2 separate regions of the Homo sapiens genome follow, and region 1 is linked to region 2. The links are contacts of gene promoters, found by promoter capture Hi-C in blood cells and fetal thymus (Javierre and others, 2016). All regions are on one chromosome and are shown on one strand. The core of a region is centred on a gene start or on the middle of the fragment in contact, and the rest is flanking DNA. Distances in the headings are between cores, read along the strand shown. Region 1 overlaps LOC105373429 (a long non-coding RNA gene). Region 2 holds the start of KCNF1 (potassium voltage-gated channel modifier subfamily F member 1).

Region 1 (4,637 bases), core at 1,424-3,923, 500 kb before region 2:
GGCCTCCCAAAGTGCTGGGATTACAGGCATGAGCCATGGCTCCCAGCCGGATTTATTTCTTTTATCTCACTTCCTACATCCAATTAACCAACACGTCCTGTGGCTCTGTCCTCAAAATACAGCCAGAAATTGCCTACGTCTCACCACTACCAAGACACCAGCACCTCTCAGAGGGCTTCTATTATAAAATAGCCCCCCACTGAGATTCCCTGGCTCCACACCTGTCTTTCTTGAGTCTTTTCTGCACATAGTAGCCAGAAGGGAAGTTTTGAAACCGTAAATTAGATCACTTCACTCTTCTACTGAAAGGGCTCCAACGGTTGCCCATCTCACAATAAAATCCAAACTCCTTACCATATTCTTTACACAGTGTACCCTGCCTACTTCTTGGGCTCCATCTCCTCCTACTGACTCCCTAGCACTCTGCAGTCCTGTCTCTCTTGGCCTTTTTGCTTTTCCTGGAGCGCACCAAGCTCATTTCCATCTCAGGTCATTTGCACTTGCCGCCTCCTCTCCTGAAATGCTCTCCACCCACATCTTCACATGGGTTGGTTGTTGTCTTCCTTTATGTAGGTTTCTAACTGAACCTACCTTGACCAGTCTTTCAAAAAGAGTACACCCCAATCACTCCAATTCTTTATCCTGCTTTACTCTTTTTTTTTTTTTTTTTTTGAGATGGAGTGTTGCTCTGTCACCAGGCTGAAGTGCAGTGGCACAATCTCAGCTCAACATCTGCCTTCCGGGTTCAAGCGATTCTCCTGCCTCAGCCTCCCCAGTAGCTGGGATTACATGTGCCCACCACCACACCCAGCTAATTTTTGTGTTTTTAGTAGAGATGGGGTTTCACCATATTGGCCAGGATGGTCTCAATCTCTTGACCTTGTGATCTGCCCACCTTGGCTTCCCAAAGTGCTGGAATTACAGGCATGAGCCACTGCACCCAGCTTTTTTTTTTTTTTTTTTTTTTTTTTTAGACAGAGTCTCACTCTGTTGCTTAGGCTGGAGTGCAGTGGTGCGACCTCAGCTCACTGCAACCTCCACCTCCCAGATTCAAGTGATTCTCCTGTCTCAGCCTCCCAAGTAACTGGTACTACAGGGATGTGCCACCATGCCTGGTTAATTTTTTTGTATTTTTTCGTAGAGATGGGGTTTCACCATGTTGGCCAGGCTGGTCTCAAACTCCTGACCTCAAGTGATCTGTCTGCCTCATCTTCCCAAAGTGCTGGGATTACAGGCGTGAGCCACCATGCCCAGCCTATCCTGTTTTACTCTTCTTTATAGCACCATCTCCACATGAAATCACACCACACATGTTCATGCACTTGTTTACTGTATGTCGTCACTGCTGTTCCTGAAGCTCCATGAGGATGGGGTCTTAGCCTGCCTTGGTCCCTTGCTTTATCCAGGGTGCCTAAAACAATGTCTATCGCATATCAATCACATAGCAGAATGTCTATCACAATATTTATTGAATGACTGAATCAGCAAACTCACATATAAAATTTGGGACAATCCAAAACTTTTTGAGAAACAACTTTTAGACTCAACACACAATGGGTGTACGTATCCTTTTTTAGCACATGGCTCATGTAGAGGCCATTTTATCTGTGATGGATTTACCACAGGGCCACAGTGCTTACAAAGAAGAGAGAGAATTGAACATTCTAAAGCGCGTTTAGCGCAAGGAAGGTCCTGCCTGGGCACTGGAGTTCTGGGTGGGACTTTGTTTTCCTGCAGCATAGTAAGGTACTGACAGATTCAGACTTTGGTGCATTCCCAGGACATGTGGCTTCCAGCAGAAAGGTGGGTCATTTCCAAGCAGTCGAAGCATTTCGTCTGTGCGACACAATTTAGAGCCCTTCCAGAATCCATTTTCTCAGTGGACCTCCAGGAATTCCCTGTCAGGAAAGAGTCAGACCTGCAGGGGGAGCTGATAGCATGCGTCCATCCTGGAAAGCCTCAGAAAATGGGGGTCCAGAAATCTAGCTATTCCTTCAAGTGGGATGGATTTAAAAGGTTATCGAATTTTATAAACATCCAGGATATTATTCTCTTACTCCTGCCAGAGGCTGAGAAATTGAAAGATTCTTAAGACTCAAAATCGCAAGTGGTCAAATTGCTTTTATACAGCCCGTATACGGCAGGATTTTATCGGAACTCTGGGGCCACTTCCTCTTCAAGGATAGATTTGAGAGTCCCTTATCTCCTTGTCTACAGACGTTGCCAAGGTGGTGGCTCCAAATGATGGTGAAGAATGCACAAGAAACACTGTCAAAATTCTGCCTCAAAAACACAAGAAGCCAGCTCTCATTATGAGATAGAAACTCTTGTGGGTTTATTGAGAGGACCCCAGAATTTCGCTTCATGCAAACAAGAGCAAAACCATGTGACCGTCCTGTTCAGAGGCCGAAAAATACTCAGCAAAATGGAAATCACTGTATTAATCTTTGTTTATTCACAAATAGCCAGGTCAGAATTAATTATCAAACCTTGCTTCTAAGTTCACACCAGGAACTCCATTAAGCTTTCCTGAAGCTGGTTTTTTTTTTGTGGGTCATAAAGTTTGCTTACTCTCAGACTCCAGTCCTTCAAGGCAACCCCTGGCAATGACAAAGAGTCCTAGTTCCCATCCCACTGTCACTCTAACAAGAGCCAGAATAGTGAGAAGGAAAAGGGGGTGGTTCCTCTCCGCCTGCTGTCCTGTGTTAGATCTGGGAAAGGGCAGGAGGAGACCTTTGCTGAGAGTGGTGGGCCTGGGACTGCCTCCAAGGCAAAAGTATTCAAGTCTTCACAGTGGCCTCAGCATCTCCTTTTCAAGCTTGTGAATTCCTGGACTTCTTTCTCAAGATCTTAAAACCAAAACAGCATATAGAAAAATACATTTTTCAAGGTTGCTCATTCCTTGTCCACACGGTAACATCCATGTCAGTGTATCTGATTATGTGCTCAGATCTCAGCAAGCTGTGGCTGCAAAATAAGGATGCATCTAGATTGTAATGACTTGGAGTCATCACCCGCCCAAAAGAGCAGAAAATTCAGGCCCCCTTCCCTTGGTTCCCTTCCTCAGGGTCCATGTTTGTCTACTATTACTTACATAATTAATAGCTCTAAAGGAATGCATCTTACAACTAACATCAAAAATTAAAAACACAACTCTTGGAGTACCTCCAGTTCAAGGTGTTGGCTGTTCCTAGTTGTCTGATGGTCATCCTCAGCCTGTGTGCTGAGGATCCACTCATCTGGTCGTCCCTGCTTGGAGTTATCTGCACTGGGATAACTGGAGGTGGGAGGCAGTGGAAATTTCGATTCCCAATGCCTCTCAGATTTGTTGCAGTCTTCCTGGATGTATCATCAGCATATGAAATAGGCATAGAGGGAAGAGGGGCTGCTTTGGCCGTGAATGTGACACATACGTACTTTGGACCTGTTGGGTTTGAGACACCAATGTTTCCATTACTGCATCTTGAAGGGTAGGGGCTTGAGGACCTCCGAGATTCTTCCAGATCATTCATGCCAAAGGCAAACCCTATGATGGTGTATGCTGATATTTGATGACAATGGAAAATGAGGTGTGTGCTTTTGGGAAGACTCTATCAGGCATATGGAAAGCGCTCTGGTGTTTGCCCCTTGCTCTTATGGCCTTCCTGTCAATTTCTTCATTTGTGACACGCTCATGCATCCATTCTTCATTTATTCATCCCCCTTTCCTCTCAGTTCTCAAAACATTGTATTTGGGACTCTTCTGGCATGTGTTTTCTCACATTGCATTGTGTCACCAATGCATGTTGGATAAATGAATGGAATGAGAAAGGATGGGGAAGTCATGTTTTGGCAAGTACTCCCACACAGGAAGAGAGCTGCAGCAAGAAAGTAACCAGACCACCCCCGCCCCCTAAAAAGCAAACATTTAAAAAAAACACAAATGGATATAAAACCCAATGAACTCCATGTCCTTACGATGAAAATAACAATCTTGGGATAGTTAGCGTAGCATTATTGTAGGGACAATAACGACAACAGCTGACTTTTTTGTATTGTTGATAATAATGATGTGAGCACATTCTATTTGTCAGGTATGCTGCTGAAAGTTTTATGTACACACTATGTATCTAATAGATACATATTATCTCATTTAATCCTCACAATGACCCCAGGAGGTAAGAATTATTACCCCCATTTTATATATAAGGAAACTGAGGCTGAGAGGTTAGGTCACTCCTACAAGATTGTATAGCTGCTAGGAGGCAGCTGGAATTCAAAGCTGGTCAGGGCGACTTCAAAGCTCAGACTCTGTCCACTCTAGTATCTTGCCACTGACATCATCACTGTGTCTAGTCCATATGATAAATGGTGTTCCTACTGGTGACCCTAAATCATCCTGTCATTTCCTAGTCTTAGAAAAGTGCACAGATGTATACTACCATTTGGAAAGAGCCCTTCCCAAAGGCTCAAAGTTAAAATGTTTTAGTTCTCAGTTGGTTACTCTTCAAATACCTGGAAATTTCATTTATATGGAGATCTTTTTCCCTATCAGTAAAACAAATGAGGAATTACAGTAGTTTTCTTGAGATTAAACCCCCAGAAACACACACAGAATGCCAGGCACAAATGCACCATGACTTTGCACATGAGAAGAG
Region 2 (4,171 bases), core at 1,600-4,099:
CCCCCACACCAAGGAAGATCAGCCCCTCTCCTGGTCCAAAGACTGTCTCATCATGAGCCCAAGCAGATGCCTCTGTCCCAAGACCACCTGGTGTCAGAGAGAACACATGGGCTTTGGGATCATCAGACCTGGGATTGTTCCCTTCTCTGTGTGACCTTGGGCCTCAGTTTCCTCATCTGTAAAATGGAGATACCTAGCTAGTAGGGTCAATGGAAGGAATAGAAAGAGGTTGTGAAAAGGGCCCGGTGCACGTGATAACTAAATGCTGCAGGCTGCTGGGCGTGCACTGTGAACTCTCCCCCATCCTGGGCCTGCAGGGGGAGCAAGCTTTACCCCAGAAGGAAGCAGCAGGGAAGCACGGCCTGCAGAGCCTCCAGGAATGTGGTAAGGCTCCTTGGCGCCGAACCTGACTATGAGCCCTTCTTTAATTAGTTCCCACTAAAAATAACTCCCCCACCACCCGGCTGCACACCTACCTCCTGGCCTGGCACTGAAGTGTGCCTGAGCTACTCTTGGGGGTGACAGCCAGCCTGTGACAGAACCTACAACACGGAGGGTGCACAGAGCAGGAGGCTTTATTGAGGGAGATACAGAAGCGGGCGTGGGCTCTCGTGCCAGCCAGGCCGCGGCCTCCACTCGTCCCACACGGCCCTGCGGCTCCTGCACACCCCTCCCTCCCGGGCTCCTGGACAGCAGGCAACATAGAGGAGTCTTACCCAGCCTTGGCAGAGGTGCCGGGAGGGCCTTCAGAGTCTGTCCAGGGGAGGGTTGGGGGGACACAGGACAGCCCTTCTGTGCTGTCGATGACATGCCTGCCACATCTACCCATCTGTCCACCGCCTGGTCCATCTCTGCCTGAGGGGCCCTCCTGTCACTTGCAACTCTGGAGCCGGGTCCTGTGGTGCTTCTCCTCGGTCAGGAGGGGGATGAAGGTGTCGCTGTGGGAGAGCTTCAGCCGGCTGCTGCAGCTCGGCGCCTCCTTCCCCGCAGGCTCTGGAGGGAGGTTGTCCAGGTCACTGCGGGAGCCCCCGGTCTTGCCCTCGCCCCCGCTGCTGGAGTTGAGTTCCATCAGCTCCAGCTCGTGCTTGGCCGCGGTCTCCAGGACGCGCTGCTTGTTGTAGTACCTGACAAAGTTGTTGATGATGGGGTGGATGGGCAGGGCGATGGCGATGACACCACACAAGAAGCTGATGGCCGCGTTGAGCTTGCCCAGCGTGGTCTTGGGGTAGATGTCGCCGTAGCCGACGGTGGTCATGGTGATGATGGCCCACCAGAAGGACTGGGGGATGCTCTTAAACAGGGTCTCTGGATGGCTCTGCTCCATGGTGTAGCCCAGGGCAGAGAAGACGAAGATACCCACTGCCAGGTACATGAGCAGCAGCCCCAGTTCCTTGAAGCTGCGCTTGAGGGCATAGGTGAGGGTCTGCAGGCCCGAGGAGTGGCGGGCCAGCTTGAAGATGCGCGCGATGCGCATGATCCGCAGCGCCTGCACGGCCTGCTGCACGTTGGTCAGCTCCATCATGCGGGCACCCAGGTGCGTGAGCGTGAGGCTCACGTAGAAGGGGAGGATGGCCAGCACGTCCACAATGTTCATGAAGGACAGCGCGAAGTGCAGCTTGTTGGGTGACGAGAAGAGGCGCAGCAGGTACTCCAGGGTGAACCAGCCAATGCACGCCGTCTCCACGTTCTCCAGCGTCGGGTGCTCCACGCGGTTGCCCTCGGCGTCCAGCACCTGCAGCTCGGGGATGGTGCCCATGCACATGACCACGGACGAGACGAGGATGAGCAGGAAGGAGAGCACGGCCACCACCCGCGCCGGGCACGACGACTCGGGCTTCTCCAGGAACTTCCAGACGCACTTCTGGCAGCGGCGCCAGCGGCCCTCGGCTGCGTCCACGCCCAGGTCGTCCAGGATGAGCTGCACGCGGCGCGCGATCTCCTCCAGCTCCTCGCGCTTCTCGCTCAGGTGGCTCTTGCAACAGTCGTCCAGGAACTTGAGGTCCACCTTCCAGAAGTCCATCTCGTTCTTGAAGCAGATGGGGCAGATGCCCTTCTTCATGTGGACCTCCCCGAAATAGTACACCTCGATGACACACTTGAAGGCGTCCGGGTCCCTGTCAAAGTAGAACTCGCGCTTGCCGGGGTCGTAGTCGTCGCACAGGGAGAAGATGGTGTCGTAGCCCCCAGCCAAGCAGTTGATGAGCTCCGCCAGCCGGGTCTCAGGGTACTGACTGAGGAGGTCCCCGTACAGCACCTGCCGCACGCCCCCCACGTTGACGACTATCTCTATGTCGTCGCTGGCAGCGGAGCTCTGGCTGCCCGGCTCCGGGAGGCTGCGCTCCCCGGACCCGTCCATCCTCCCCGCGCGCGCCCTCGCAGCCTCCGCCCCGCGCCCCCTGCAGCCGCCGCCGCCGCTGCCGCTGGGGGTCCGGCGGGTGCCACCCGTGCGCTGATCTCGGGGAGAGCCTGGCCGGCGCCCGCCTGCGGGGAAGGGCGGTCACAGCGGGCAGCAGCCTGCGGGGGCGCGCCGCGGGGGAGGCATGCACCCGGCGGCGGGGCTCGGGGCTGGCATCCGGGCGCCCGGGCGAGCCCGCGGGGGCTTTGGCGGCCGCCGGCCTCGCCCGGGGCACTCACCCCGGCTGGCTGGCGGCGCGCTCCGCCGCTTCAGCTCGGCCTCCTGCGGGAGCGGGGTCTCCTCGTGGGCGGCTGGCACCGTCCTCCGCCCCGGGGCGCGCAGGCAGCGGCGGCAGGTCCCGGAGCTGGCGGACCCACGCCGTCCGCGAGGTGCTCGAGGTGTGCAGAGAGCGAACTTGGGCTGGCTTTGCCCGAGCCTTTTCTAAACACAATAGGAATTCCAGCCTGACGTCAGGAGCTTTTCAAACTGTACCCTCTTCTGGTGAAATTCTGCAAGGCACGCGCGGCAGCTGCAGGGGACGGATTAACCCTTGGGCAGACGGGCACAGCTGCCGCGCCCGCCGCCACCACCGCGCACCGCCGGCCCCTCCTCGGGCGCAGCGGGTCACCGAGGGGTTGCGACCTGGCTTGAAGCGGCAGGCATTCTCTCTCACTGCTGTTTGGAGAGGATTAGTGGGGAGAGAATGCTGCCGCCTGTTGCTGGGCAGGAAAATGTGCTCCAGGAAGCCCCTTAGAAGGTGACTCCTATGTCTGGGTCCCTCCTCCGGCCTTAGACCCGCGCCGGCTTTTCCTGGTGGGAGGAAAATCCTGCCTGATCCTTGAAGCGTTTCCTGCCCCATCCCCCCGACCCAGCAATGCCCTGCTGTGTTGGTGGCACTGTCTCACCTTCCCCGCAACGCTGTACAAGGAGGACATCTAGTCCAGCCTCCTGTAGAAGGGAAGGGACTTGCCCAAGGTCACGCGGCGGAATGAGAGCAGAGCTCAGCTTGACCGCCTCCTGATCCCGAGCTTTCCGGCTGTCCCAGCTGACCGACGCCTGCTGTTCAGCAGATTTCAATTCTGCCTTGAAGTCCCTGCCGTCTGGCACCTCCTATCTCTCTGCAGTCCCACACCAAGGCCACTAGCTTCCAGACCCCTAGGGTCCAGTGGCTCCTGCTTCCCCGTTCCTCACTCCTTGACCAAGGCCTGTCTCTTCCTGACCAGTGTCCCACACCCTCCTCTCTTCCAGCCTTTGCAGCCACAGCTGTCCTTCTGTCCTCACTCACCTGAACCACTACAGCAGCTTCCTAACAGTGTCTCTCTCCTCCGGTTCACCACTATCATCAATACTGCAAATTACTGATATCATCTATGGCCTCGAGATCGTGTTAAAAATATTCTGGAGGGAAGAATGAATAGGCAGAGCAGAGGATTTTTAGGGCAGTGAAACGTACCATAATGGCGGATATGTGTCGTTATGCAATGGTCAAAATCCATAGAATGTTCACCACCAGGAGCGAATGTTAATGCAAACTCGGTGCTGGGCGATGATGACGTGTCCATGTGGGGTGGTCCACCATGACAAGTGTCCCACCCTGTGTGAGATGTTGATGCGCAGGGGAGAGCTGTGGAGACAGGGGGCATGTGGGAATTCTCTGTACTTTCTGTTGAATTGTGCTCTAAAATATAAAGTCTATTTAAAAATGTATTCTGTAGGCTGGGTTTTTTAAAACTTAAGGACATGTCCGTTAATGGATTATGAAATCAATTTACTGGG

Evidence for each region. The method cuts DNA at HindIII sites, captures the fragments that hold promoters and counts their contacts. A CHiCAGO score of 5 or more calls a contact.
Region 1: a fragment that was not itself captured here is called in contact with the fragment with the promoter of KCNF1 in region 2 in 1 of 17 cell types (non-activated CD4 T cells); the score reaches 5.5 in non-activated CD4 T cells.

The regions. Positions count from the first base shown.
Region 1 is chr2:11,409,486-11,414,122 of GRCh38, reverse strand. The region is part of intron 2 of LOC105373429 (a long non-coding RNA gene); the gene reads right to left. Among named protein-coding and RNA genes, the nearest start is that of LINC00570, 18 kb to the right of the region's middle. The HindIII fragment of the contact is 294 bases long and covers 2,527-2,820 here.
Region 2 is chr2:10,910,612-10,914,782 of GRCh38, reverse strand. It overlaps KCNF1 (potassium voltage-gated channel modifier subfamily F member 1), which reads right to left and starts at 2,849. Exons shown (of 1, transcript NM_002236.5): 1 at 558-2,849. The coding sequence starts at 2,356. The coding sequence ends at 872. The HindIII fragment of the contact is 10,094 bases long and covers 330-4,171 here.